3 separate regions of the Homo sapiens genome follow, and all the other regions are linked to region 3. The links are contacts of gene promoters, found by promoter capture Hi-C in blood cells and fetal thymus (Javierre and others, 2016). All regions are on one chromosome and are shown on one strand. Each heading gives the region's core, a stretch centred on a gene start or on the middle of the fragment in contact. The rest is flanking DNA. Distances are from core to core; before and after follow the strand shown.

Region 1 (4,802 bases), core at 390-2,889, 270 kb before region 3:
AGATGCCAGCCTGATGCTGGAGCAGGCCTTGGGTCTGGGGCTGCAGGGACTGACCTGAAGCCTGAGACCATAGGGGCTGGCCTTGTGCCCGTGTTCACTGGACCAGACCTGGTGCTGGGATCCACAGTGAAGTCTGCTCACTACACTCTCTTTCCCTCATGTGATGGGTCTCTTTCTGCACTGCACTGTTTAGGTTTGGGGGAGCAGTGATGCTGGCAACATGAAACTGTCCTTCCTACCCTCTTAAATATGCCTTTTCTTATATCCGTGCTCTACCCAGGTGCTGTAATCTCTCATCTGGATTCCTTGGCTCTTACAAAGGTATTTTTGTACATGCGTGGTTGTTCAAATTGATGTTTCTTCAAGGGGATGAGTGCCAGAAACTCATATTCTGCCATCTTGCTGATGTCAGCTCCTCTAATACCCAAGACAGCAGAGGAACAACTGTTTTTTTCAGATAGAGCTCTGGACTTGAGGTTCTTTTTAAATAGAGACTTCATACAAAAGATCTCCAGTCTGTCTACATTTTCAAACATAGAATCTATAATTCAGTGACTGCCAGGTTCTCAAAAAACTGTTAGTTCTTTACCCATCAATCCCAGAAGATTCATTAATCAGGGAGTAATTGGGATATATCACCAGGCTAGGAGTTCTCTACCATCAATGAACAGAAGAGGAGGTATATAGTCCCAGCATTTCTCCTCTCACCTCTGTACCCTCTCCTCCTTAGATGATTCAATTCACTCCAAGGATAAAAGTGGAGAAATCTATTAGAAGCAAAACTGCACATTCTGGATAAGACAAATCCAGGGAAAGATGGGCTGTGATGCCTTCCTACTCCGTTAACCTACTTTAAATAGAATGTTTAATCTTAAATATGTTCTCATTACTCTGGACTTAAGCTTAGAACCCTGTTCCTAAAGAAGGAAATGTGGCTTAGAAAAATAACAAATTTATAACCAATCATTGCAGGCACCCGCTGGACTTGGCAAACCATAGATGCACAGGAACACTTTGTAATATTTTTGCAACTTTCCTATAAGTTGGAAATTATCTCCAAACAAAAAGTTTTAGAAAAAAATTCATAGATCTGAGGTTGTCAAAGGTCTTCTAGGAAATGAGAATGTCCAGTGTTTAATTAGAGCTTTTTGCATTGCTAACATATAAATCCCTCTGAACCCATCCCAATTTTTGAGTAAACTCAACTACACATAAAAATGACAGTGAGAGTGAGCAGTTGAGTCACCCCTGGGTAACTGTCATGAAGGAAAGAACACATGTGAAATAGCAAGATAATCCATAAATCGTTCTAATTCAGCAGACAGTGTAGAGGAATATAAAGAACCACAAGGATCTGCAATCATGGGAACCACTTTGTGTTTCCACAGGAAGTAAAATAAAGATTTGAGACAACATTATATGGATATTCAGGAATCAGGCCCCCACAGTGGTTGGCATTTAGTCCACATGTTAGAAGTTCTTAGTTCAGTGTGGTATTTGGTAAATGTTATCTATTGACAGTATTGTTTAAAATTGGAGCACAGGTAGGAAGGTCCATCTGCAGCAACATAGGAAGGAGAAAGAGCCAGGACCTGGTAAGTGATCTGCCCAGTAGTTTCTAGGGGAAATAACTGGGAAAAGGAGAAACTGCAAAACTCAAAGGATCATCCACGACATTCAGCAGCCTCAGGCAAAATTCCAGAATCAGTTTTTACCAAGATGAGCCTAAGGTGAATTGTAGAATCTCAAGAATAGATAAAACTCAGTAGCTTAAAATCCATGCTTAAAACTCCAGATAAGCAAATAAGCAATGGGTTTTTCTGCAGGATATCTGCCCTAGGTTTTCAAGGCTATGAGTGAGGTTATGCACAGGCTATGAGTACCAATGCACATAGGACTCATAGCCAAATAAGAAATAAAATACCGCATTATTAATGCTTGGGCAAGCAAATGATACTCCCTGTTGCTGGGCTTTTCAGTTAAATTGAAAGAATATTCTCTTCAAAAAATGGTGCTGGGACAAATGGATATCCACATGCAAAAGAATAAAATTGTACTCCTATCTCACACTATATAGAAAATTAACTCAAAAAGATCAAAGACCTAAATTTGAGAGCTAAAATGTAATAGAGTCTAATTCCATTTTTTGATGTTCGACTGCAAATAACTTTTAAGCCTATCCATGACTCTTCCCTTCTTCCACATGTCTGGGAAAGCTGATAAAGCTCAGATGCTGTCACCTTTAGTGTCATCAGGGGATTGAAATTGAAACACATAAGCTCCTGTTTGTCTGCAGGAACCCTCGCCCTGGCCCAATCCCCCACAATAGAAATCTCTAGCCAGTCTCCTTTCCTTGCCTTTCAATCCATTTTCAGACAAGCTTGAGAAGCCTTCCCTGCTTTCATCCAAAATCCTCATAATAAAACTTTTTCACACTGTTGAGGTGTGTGTGTGTGTGTGTGTGTGTATGTGTGTGTGTGATCATCAGTCTTGACATCTAAATCAAATTTTGAGTGGTAATCTAGCCTGTACCTATGGAGTAGTCACAAAAGTTGATGCTGTGAGCCAGACTGTATCAATGTTGACCACCACCACTAGGGATCTTCCTTCTCTTGTTCTTGTCTTAACTGGGTACAAACCACTGCACCTAGCATGTAGGATATTTCCTCTGCTTGCTGGCAAGCTTGCACTTTGAGTTTTGCTGTACTGCGCAACATGTGTCGAGTCCTACAAAACCCCTGTTAAAAATTTAGCTCCAATAGGCCAGGTGCGGTGGCTCACACCTATAATCCCAGCACTTTGGGAGGCCGAGGCAAGTGGATCACGAGGTCAGAAGATTGAGACCATCCTGGCTAATACAGTGAAACCCTGTCTCTACTAAAAACACAAAAAAATTAGCCGGGTGTGGCGGTGGGCACCTGTAGTCCCAGCTACTTGGGAGGCTGAGGCAGGAGAATGGTGTGAACCCAAGGGGCGGAGCTTGCAGTGAGCCAAGATCGCACCACTGCACTCCAGCCTGGGCAACCCAGCAAGACTCCGTCTCAAAAAAAAAAAAAAAATAGCTGAAATAGGTCAGAAGTTTTTATATTTGCATTTGGGGATAAAAGTACAGTATTGGGGCCCTCCATAAAGTGGTCTTGGCTCATGTGTCTCAGGCTGGACCTATCTGTGTATCTTAGAATCCAGCTGTACCAGGTGCTGGGTTCTGGGAAAAGAATCTTACCCTGTAACCAGTTGGTTGTATCTCAACCTGGCACTGTCCCCTGGTCTATAAAATGCTTTTGGGAAAGACTATACTCTATGTGAGATATGACTCCATCAGTGGTTGCTCATAAAAGAACAATCATTAGGAAGAGATTTTGTTGTTGTTGTTGTTGTCATTATTTTTTACTTCAGTGACTCTGATAGGTGTAAAGAGCTATCTCACTGTGGTTTTCTTTTTTTTTTTTTTTTTTGTACTTTAAGTTCTGGGGTACATGTGCACAACGTGCAGGTTTGTTACATAGGTACACATGTGCCATGTTGGTTTGCTGCACCCATTAACTCATTATTTACACTAGGTATTTCTCCTAATGCTATCCTTTCGCCACCCCGACAGGCCCCGGTGTGTGATGTTCCCCTCCCTGTGTCCATGTGCTTTCACTGTTCAACTCCCACTTATGAGTGAGAACACACGGTGTTTTGTTTTCTGTTCTTGTGTTACCTTGCTGAGAATGATGGTTTCCAGTTTCATCCATGTCCCTGAAAAGGACATGAACTCATCCTTTTTTATGGCTGCATAGTACTCCATGGTGTATATGTGCCACATTTTCTTTATCCAGTCTATCATTGATGGGCATTTGGGTTGGTTCCAAGACTTTGCTATTGTGAATAGTGCTGCAACAAACATACCTGTGCATGTGCCTTTATAGTACAATGATTTATAATCCTTTGGGTATAAACGCAGTAATGGGATTACTGGGTCAAATGGTATTTCTAGTTCTAGATCCTTGAGGAGTCACCACGCTGTCTTCCACTATGGTTGAACAAATTTGCACTCCCACCAACAGTGTAAAAGCATTCCTATTTCTCCACATCTTCTCCAGCACCTGTTGTTCCCTGACTTTTTAATGATTGCCATTCTAACTGGTGTGAGATGGTATCTCATTGTGGTTTTGATTTGCATTTCTCTAATGATCAGTGATGATGAGCATTTTTTCATAAGTTTGTTGGATACATAAATGTCTTCTTTTGAGAAGTGTCTATTCATATCCTTTGCCCACTTTTTGATAAGGTTGTATGTTTTTTTCTTGTAAATTTGTTTAAGTTCTTTGTATATTCTGGATATTAGCCCTTTGTCAGATGGATAGATTGTAAAAATTTTCTCCCATTCTGTAAGTGGCCTGTTCACTCTGATGATAGTTTCTTCTGCTGTGCAGAAGCTCTTTAGTTTAATTAGATCCCATTTGTTTATTCTGGCTGTTGTTACCATTGCTTTTGGTGTTTCAGTCATGAAGCCTTTGCCCATACCTATGTCCTGAATGGTATTGCCTAGGTTTTCTTCTAGGGTTTTTATGGTTTTAGGTCTGACATTTGAGTCTTTAATCCATCTTGAGTTAATTTTTATATAAGGTGTAAGGAAGGGATCCAGTTTCAGCATACAGCTAGCTAGTTTTCCCAGCACCATTTATTAAATAGGGAATCCTTTCCCCATTGCTTATGTTTGTCAGGTTTGTCAAAGATCAGATGGTTGTAGATATGTGGTGTTATTTGTGAGGCCTCTGTTCTGTTCCATTGGTCTACATATCTGTTTTGGTACCAGT
Region 2 (4,600 bases), core at 1,073-3,572, 310 kb before region 3:
AGGGAGAGTATCAGGATAAATAGCTAATGCATGTGGGGCTTAATAACTAGGTGATAGGTTGATAGATGCAGCAAACCATCATGGCACATGTTTACCCATGTAACAAACCTGCACATCCTGCACATGTATCCCAGAACTTAAAAAGGCACTCCAGAACTGTGGCCTAAGATTCTTCAGACTGGATCAATAAAACAAGCCTCAACAAGTTCTTAAATTCTACCTTAGATGGTCATATTGCTTTTTGGTTTTGCTTAGAAATAAATAGATTGTTTCACCTCCACCACCACCCCTGGTATTAATCCAGGTACAAAACAAAGTGTTAGCAATGGTAAAGATTCCCCACTGGTTGACCCAAAGAAAACGTAAAGCTATTATTTCACTTGTAGTAATCTGGGCTAATTTAAATGTTTATTCTACTATATTATTTACAAATTTGGAGAAAAATTTGTGAGATTATCTGGGTTATTTAAGTCCTAGGAATGAAATTACTATTCCCCGAATGACGCTTCCACAGTTACTACTCCAAGTAAAGATCTTATCTCTTTAAATATTTTTAGAAAGAGGCCGGGCACAGTGGCTCATGCCTGTAATCCTAGCACTTTGGGAGACCTCACCTGAGGTCAGGAGTTGAGACCAGCCTGGCCAATATGGTGAAACCCCATCTCTACTAACAATACAAAAAAATTAGGTGGACGTGGTGGCAGGGGCTTGTAATCCCAGCTACTAGGAGGCTGAGGCAGGAGAAGGGCGTGAACCTGGGAGGCAGAGTTTGCAGTGAGCCGAGATTGCACCACTGCACTCCAGCCTGGGCGACAGAGCGAGACTCAGTCAAAAAAAAAAAGAAGATAATTATAGGTAAAGTTAATGTAACACATCTTTCTATCATTCTTTAAATTGGCTTCACTAGCAATAGCTTAAGAGAGCTGAATTACAGAGTTATGGTAATAATCACCCCTACATTCCTACACATTATTATAAGAGAATTATAATAAATTAAGTTAGAAATGTATAAATTTAAACCAGCAAAGAATAGTATGAAAGAATTTATCAAATAGATGTAACAACAGAAATGTAAATAATCTCTGTGCCAGCTCTACCCTTGGCAATTTATACTATACTCAGCAACAAAAGGGAAACAATTTAGAATGCTCAAGGGGAAACAAGTTGGAATGTTTCCAATCTTGGGGACCCAAGGTAAGGCAGTATGACTGACAGCCTGAGCTACTACCCGCCTAAGCTTTATTCTTAGCAGCCATGAACTACGTAAAACCAAAAAGTCATCCTTGCTTCATATGTGAATGGAGTTCAAATATCATGAACGAATGGAATAAGTCATTGAGTATTTTGAATACATGCTAATGAATGGACTGTAAACCATTTGGTCCTGCCTCAGAAACACCACCCCAGTGTACACTAATATCTGCATAGATCCTGCCCTTCTTCTCCTACTCTTTTCCACCCAAGGCATCATTTAACCAAAAGTAGAAAAACTCTGAAAGTGTGCTTTCAAATCATTCCTGCTTAGGCCATCAACTTTTCTTTAGCCTAATAATGATGTGTTTACAGACTGTGTTTCTGGGTGACCCATGTCTGTCTGAGAGGACCAGGGGAGGAAAAAGATCTTTAGGTCACAAGTGAAATAATTTGATGGATGATCCCTTGGGTGCATAGATTAATACCCTGAAATGCTTTCCCATCACACATATGCTGCCACTAAGAATGAAGCCACTGACTTCACTTTCTATTTCCTGATGTTATACTCAATGACCTCTGTTTCAGAGAATGCGTTAAAGAGCCAGAGCAGTGCAATCTCATGCAAGCAGCTTATAAGACAGCTATTGGAGCACTTCAATATAAATATGAGAGGGAAAAAAAATGGCACCTAGGAGCAGGACCAAGAGATACAGACTAGAAATTGGGTCTTGTCACAGGACTAGAGAAAATGGATTAGGATATTGAGCGAGGAACTGACATTTGGAGGCTCTTCAGTTGGAATCCCTTCCAGTTTCCAAAGTGCAGCCAAAAATGTGGGCAAAGCTGTCAAGGTTATGCTTTGCAATACTCTTCTAACCTTTGTGGAGCTGATGTAAATGATTTTACTCCATAAAATTAGGTTCTTAGTTTACATAGCAAAAGACACAAAAACTAAGGTGAATCAAGGTGGTGAAGCAGAGAAACAAAACGACAACTTCCCAAGGCCCACGAAAGTTCAAAATTGGGGCACAGGTCCTTCTTTCCCACAATACCCAATACAGGATTAATTAGTCTGCTACAAACTGAATGTGTGTGTCCCTCTAAAATTTGTATGTTGAAACCTAATCCCTAATATGACGGTATTTGGAAGCAAGGCCTTTGGGAGGTGATTAAGTCATGAGAGCAGAGAACTCATGAATAGGATTAATGCCTTTATAAAAGAGACCCCAAGAGAGCTCCCTTGCCCTTTCTGTCATGTGAGAATACAGTGATAAGACAGGAATCTATAAACCAGCAAGGGTGCCCTCAGCAGACACAGAATCATCCAGTGCCTTGATCTTGGATTTCCCAGTCTCCAGAACTGTGAGAAATAAGTATTTGTTGTTGTTAAACCACCCAATCTATGATATTCTGTTATAGCAACCCAGATGGACTAAGACAGACAAAATCTAAGGATGACCAAAGGAGACACATTCAAGCTCACATTCAGGGATGGAAAGTAAGAAGGAAAGATGTAAAAGAACAATAGACCCTTTGAAATGGGAGACCAGATCCTCATAGGCATCTACAATCTCTTTATAAAGAGACAGTAGGCACCCTTCAGCAGACCTTAATCCAGTGCAGCAGTGGCATTTGCACACAGACCCAGCCAAGAGCACCAGGGAAAAGCTGGAATACTAAGCCTGCAATAAGCACTGCCCAGTACGAAGAATACCTTTTAAAATTAGAGGGTCCTGAAGCAGACATTTCTGCCAAATCTCAGGGTTGGCCTCAGGCCTTCAAACAAGTTACATAAAACAGAGAAGCTATATTCTCAGGAAAAATAGCTAATGCATGCTGGGCTTAATACCTAGGTGATGGGTCGATAGGTGCAACAAATCACCATGACACATATTTACCTATGTAACAAACCTGCACATCTTGCACATGTACCCTGCAACTTAAAATAAAAAATAAAATAAAAGAGAGAAGCTATGCTTTTTTTGCCACACACTGACCTGCGAATGGTGTGAAATATACTGCTTTAGCCTGAATTGAATATGATTCCAGGTGTGCCTGAACAGCTCTCAGCAAATCTGCCTCTTGCACAGCACACTACTCTTCCCTTCCCTGGACCTGAAGGTGGTACATGGCCATTATAGACAAGATGCTAAAACCTACAGCAAGCAAAAACAAAGGCATTTTTTTTTTACCCCTTATAGACTGGAGCCTTGACAAGCTTTCTTTCTTCTTGAGTATACTACAAGGTACTTTTTTGTCTTTCCATAAACAACAACCAAAGAGAAAGAGAGAGAAAGTAAGCACTTTGTTTATAGAAGTCAATTTTTTTTAATTTAGCAAACACTGAGCACCTATTTTTGCCAGGCATTTTAGGAAACATCTTAAAAAATAGCATAAATCTAAAAATCAGATGGTACTTCCAGCTAAAGCCTTCCAGAATTTTGTTGTTTTCGAATTGGAAGTGCTAGGGAATGTTAGGAACAGATGGTCTCAAAAGGATATCAGAAAATGGGTGCCCCAGGAATGAGAATGTGATTGCTCTTACCATCTATTGCCTAAAACATCACAGTAAATTCCAAATTGGTGCCTCTGCATCCTTTCCATTATCGCCTTTCAAATCCATTCTTCTCATGCTATCAAATCTATCTTTTAAAAAAAAAATCAGTCTTAGCATTTCACTTCCTCCTCTTTTCTTCTCTGAATAATCCTACATAAAGTCAAAATTTCTTGTCATTGCATCCCAACCCTTTTCTCATCTGGCTCTGACTCATCTTTTCAATTTCCTCCCCTCCTCTGCAAAGGCTAACATATCTCCCCTAGTCTACAAACAAGAAGTCTGTAAAATGCTATTAATATTGTTATAACTTCATAATGTCTGTAGCAGCTGAGACAATAATATGGTAGGCTTTTCCCAGAAATAGTCTTGTCAAAACCCCAATGGAACCAATGGCTGGACACTGATCCAAAATACAGTCCTTAAATTAAGAAGCATTCTCGCTGCTATGAGCAGTGGGATTTTTAGGAAAGCTACTTAGAATATTGTTTGTGCTGCAATGAAGGAGATTCAAGCCAGGATTTTAATGAATGTCATAAAATCTGCTGAGAATAAGCAGTGACCCAAAACCCTAACCTACTACTAGTCTGCGTTGTGACAATGCAATGGTTCAAAATGGACCCCAGGGTCTTGTACTGCCATTGTTCTTTCTGAGTGTCCCCCTTAATTGCTGGGACAGCCATAAATAAAGTTGCAAAATAGACAGTCTTCCTTGGGCTTAGAAAAAAGGAGTGAGAGAAAGTTACTTTCCTTTGTAGCTTGCCCACCCTCTGACCTGAACCCCTCATGCCGCTGTCCCGGACTTTCACACTGTGCACCATGCATAATAGTTAATGTTCGCTCTTAAAGTAC
Region 3 (4,409 bases), core at 1,457-3,956:
AATCCATTTAATGCATTTAGCATAGAGCCTGTCACACAGTAAGAACTTAATAAATATTGGGATTATGATTAATACTGTATTTAATAACTCAAGGTAACAGCGGAATTGCTTTTCTTTCAAATATAAGACTGCTAAGATGGCAGATGGACACTAAAATACTACTGCTGAAATAGCAAGTCGTAGTATAACTTTATCTGAAAATCACGTAATTGTGAGGATTTCCATAACTTCTTTGTTTCCTTATTTTATTCTGCTTCTTTTTCTGCCTTGTGGTCCTTGCTTAATTCCTAATTTTGTTACATTCTCAAAGTTGTCCTTTGGCATCTTCTAAGCTTTTGATAAAGCAGTTAACATTATTAGCAGTTAACAGCTAACACTATCACTATTGTATTTTTTTCTTTTGCTTTTTCTTTCAAAGATATGTTCTAAATAACAGCTGATGGGGAAAGGAGACAAAGTTGACTAAACGGAAGTAATCAGTTACCTTTAGCATGCTGGTGGTTTCTTGTTAAAGATTCCAGAAAATACCCAAAGCATAAAAGCATAAACATCTCTTTGATATCTTATGATTAATAAAATAATTATTGTCAAGTATAGGTCTAAGTGTTAATGATCACCGGAGATTATTATTATTAATTTTTGAGACAGAGTCTAGCTCTGTCGCCCAGGCTGGAGTGCAGTGGCCCAATCTCGGCCCACTGCAACCTCCCCCTCTTGGGTTGAAACGATTCTCCTGCCTCAGCCTCCCGAACAGCTGGGATTAGAGGCGCCCACCACCAGGCCCAGCTAATTTTTTTTGTATTTTTAGTAGAAATGAGGTTTCGCTACGTTGGCCAGGCTGGTCCTCAATGCCTGGCCTCAACTGTTAGTCAGGATGGTCTCGATCTCCTGACCTCGTGATCCGCCCGCTTTGGCCTCCGAAAGTGCTAGGATTACAGGAATGAGCCACCACGACCGACCGAGACTATGCATTTAAAAGATTAATGTTATAAAAACATTTTGATAATCCAAGTCTGTTGAAATTCTTCCACGTGGCCCAGTTTTACATACGATTCCACATGGCATGATTTGTTTCATAAGAATATGATGGATGAAGTACATGACTGAGGTATTATTAAATGTTAATGATGTCTATTCTATTGTTTCAGATGAAATACGAATTGGCTTAAGAGAAAATAGTTCCATTAAAATGGGGTAAGATCCCCGACACATGTTCTTTTTCACCCTTGTACCTCCAAACACTGAGAATAGTTCTTGTTACAGATGTTGTATTAATATCTGCTAAATTAATCTAAGATGCGGATGCCAGGATAATAATTAAGGAAGAAGGCACTGGAAGTTGGAGAGTTCTTCTATCTCCCTGTCATGACGCCCGCCCAAAATGAAAATAAAATATAAGCTTCTCAAAATAACCCAGAAATAGTGGCTCACGCCTGTAATCCCAGCACTTTGGGAGGCCGAGGCGGGCGGATCACGAGGTCAGGAGATCGAGACCATCCTGACTAACACGGTGAAATCCCGTCTCTATTAAAAATACAAAAAATTAACCTGGCGTGGTGGCACGCGCCTGTAGTCCTAGCTACTCGAGAGGCAGAGGCAGGAGAATCGTTTGAACCCGGGAGGCGGAGGTTGCAGTGAGCCGAGATCGCGCCACTGCACTCCAGCCTGGGCAACAGAGAGAGACTCCGTCTCAAACAAACAAACAAAAAAACCCAGAAACAGTTTTTCTAAATGAAAAGTTTAGAATTTTAAAAATTGTATAGAAAACACAAGCAGGCTGCCGCTTGTAAGAGAATGCTGCGTGCACAACTATTTCAGCAATTTAACAGGTGCATGAATGAACTTATTTTCCAAAGGAAAAACAAGTGTAACAAAAATAACTTGACTATAGACGGATGGTTAAGATGGAGACTATGCTGACAAATGGAGAGCCTACAGTATAAAGCATTTCAAATAAATTTCTTAGTCTGTTTATAACAATGACAGACCACTGCACAAGAGAAATGTGCATGTAGCTCCCTTAAAGTATAAAGGTGAAAAGGTCATTTAAAGGGTCGATATGTTAAATCAAAACTTAAACCACAACCTACGGATTTTTTAAAAATCACACGCATTAATGTTCAGTATTTAGTAAACTGTTGAGAAAAGCAAGTTGGATACACCGTTCCCACAGAAATCTTCACATCCCTTCCCATTTCCCTAGTAGCCGGCGCCCCGCTCCCAGGAGTCTCATCCACACCACTATTCCTCGGCCTCTCCGCCCTAGCCCCCAATATCCTCGGGTTCCTATTTTTCTGGCCTCCACCCCCACTCAAGGATCCCAATGAGGTTCTAACTCTACAATTGCAGCCTGTGTGCCCCAAGAAATAAAGCTGCTCCCCTGCCCCAGTAGAGAACGCCCGAGAGGCGGGAGCGAGGCACCAAAGCACAAGCTGGGCCTCTCCGGCCTTCCAGGCCACCGGCCGCGGGAAGACGAGGGCGGGGGCACAGAGGAATACGGAATGTATGGGCATCTCCAGGGGGGTGAGGCGTCCCTCAGCCGCACCAGCCCGGCCGCCCCTACGCCTCTGGTACCGAATCTGAACCGTGTTCCTGCAGAAACTTGATAATGTCCTTCTTGGGCAGCTGCTCACTGCGCAGCTGCTCCACGGTCCACGCCCGCTGTGGAACGGCCGCCGCCATCTTCCCCCGCTGCCTCCGCTTTACTGAGCCAGCCCGCCGCAGTTCGGCATCGCCCCGCCCCCTAGGGCGGGGCGGGGCCACTCACGGAGGTCGAGGGGCGGGCCTCTGCTCTAGCAGTCGGGATTGGGGCCTGTCTTTGAGTGACGTCAAGGCTGTGCTATGAGGGCTTCTTTGTTGAGTCCGGGTTGAAAAACCTACCGCGGTCGTCTCTGCAGTCGACTGAGTAGAAGACCGCTAGAGATCTTCGATTCTGAATTAGACACCTTGTGAAGCGACCTCTGATGGTAGCGACATTTATCAACCATTACCCACATTTAAGGCAGCTATGCCTTTAAAGTCCAGTCTATAACCTGTTAAAAGAAAACAGCATTCAGGCTCCTTATCTCGTTTTATCTAGTTCTAGCCTAAAAAGTCACACCTGAAGTGCTTCAGTCCTTGTCGATCCGAAAACCCATATCCCACCATTTCCCTTTTAAAGATCACACAACCGAAACTTAAATACAAACTGCCCATCCCCTTCCCCCCATACAAATACGAGAAAGTTTGTCCAAAACGAAGTTCAGAAACTTTAACAAATAAAACAATTTATAAAGAAGCCGCACTCAGGATGCCACTTGCTGATGAGAATGACATTATTAATGCTCGTAACTCTGTGATGTATATTTTTTTCTCAGTACACGAGGAAACAAATTTACAGAGGTTACTCAAAGTCAGGTTTAGAGAGAAGTCAGGAATTATTTGAGACAGAAATCTTCGTTAGAGTGGAATAATTGCACACCGACGTTTATTATAATGCTCTTACCTATAATAAAGATTTAATAGTTGAACATCAGGACTCCTTACTTAAAAAAATGTAGGCTGACTCTGGGCATGTTGCCTATGAGTTAGCTCTGCTTTGCAAGGAGCATTAAAAAAAAAAATTCTGACGAATAGCTGGACCAGACCACGTTCACTTCCCTTTAAACAATGAAAATATTAAAATAATGGGTTGCCACTCCCAGCGCGGTGAAAAAGAGACTTGGCATTTTGTTTTCTCAGCCCAGATAGAGATATAAGACAAATTATTCCATCTACACATTTTTGCTTTTCACTTTATATTCTGATTTAAAAGTACAAGGAATGAGGCACGTTAGACGCTCAATAACATTAAGTTCCCAAACTGGTGGCTATTCCATTGTCCCCGGGTATGTAATATTTTACAATAAATCTCTATTATAACATTTTAAGTGATTTATCACGTTAGCAATGACGCCCAGCCATCTAATCATTGGAAACGGAACTTAAATTTAGAGTTTGTTAAAACAAAACACCGGAACCGCACCGGGGACCATATTTAGAGTAACGCCTTAATAATGCGCATGAGTCTCCGGCAGGGCTGTGAAGGTTTCCGGGAAGCCAGCCAATCATTCCCAACGGAAACTCAGTAGCGGCATTTTCAACTGGATAAACTGGCCTTAGTCCCGCCTTCTCGTTCCAGAGTTTTGTGCGAAGGAAACCGATGGGGATCGGAACCGTAGCGGTTGAGCTGCTGCTGCTACGGATATCTGACAGAAGCCTTCGGTGGTTGTCGGCCTAATGAGCGGACGGCAAAGAACGCTTTTTCAGACGTGGGGCTCAAGTATCTCCCGATCATCTGGGACTCCGGGTTGCAGCTCCGGAACTGAGCGACCTCAGAGCCCTGGCAGCTCCAAGGCGCCTTTGCCAGCAGCAGCGGAGGCTCAGCTGGA

The links. The method cuts DNA at HindIII sites, captures the fragments that hold promoters and counts their contacts. A CHiCAGO score of 5 or more calls a contact.
Region 1: a contact is called between a fragment that was not itself captured here and the fragment with the promoter of FKBP3 in region 3, in 4 of 17 cell types (total B cells, naive CD4 T cells, total CD4 T cells and 1 more). The highest score is 8.3, in total B cells.
Region 2: a fragment that was not itself captured here is called in contact with the fragment with the promoter of FKBP3 in region 3 in 1 of 17 cell types (non-activated CD4 T cells); the score reaches 5.9 in non-activated CD4 T cells.

What each region holds. Positions count from the first base shown.
Region 1 is chr14:44,866,937-44,871,738 of GRCh38, forward strand. No RefSeq gene overlaps it. Among named protein-coding and RNA genes, the nearest start is that of DORIP1, 28 kb to the right of the region's middle. The HindIII fragment of the contact is 1,478 bases long and covers 901-2,378 here.
Region 2 is chr14:44,826,471-44,831,070 of GRCh38, forward strand. No RefSeq gene overlaps it. Among named protein-coding and RNA genes, the nearest start is that of LINC02302, 30 kb to the left of the region's middle. The HindIII fragment of the contact is 2,175 bases long and covers 1,236-3,410 here.
Region 3 is chr14:45,131,775-45,136,183 of GRCh38, forward strand. FKBP3 (FKBP prolyl isomerase 3) reads right to left here and starts at 2,707. Exons shown (of 7, transcript NM_002013.4): 1 at 2,575-2,707. The coding sequence starts at 2,682. It overlaps FANCM (FA complementation group M), which reads left to right and starts at 4,156. Exons shown (of 23, transcript NM_020937.4): 1 at 4,156-4,409. The coding sequence starts at 4,258. RefSeq lists enhancers at 1,905-2,776, 2,464-2,683, 2,777-3,647, 4,310-4,359 and a silencer at 2,653-2,830. The HindIII fragment of the contact is 3,907 bases long and covers 1,398-4,409 here.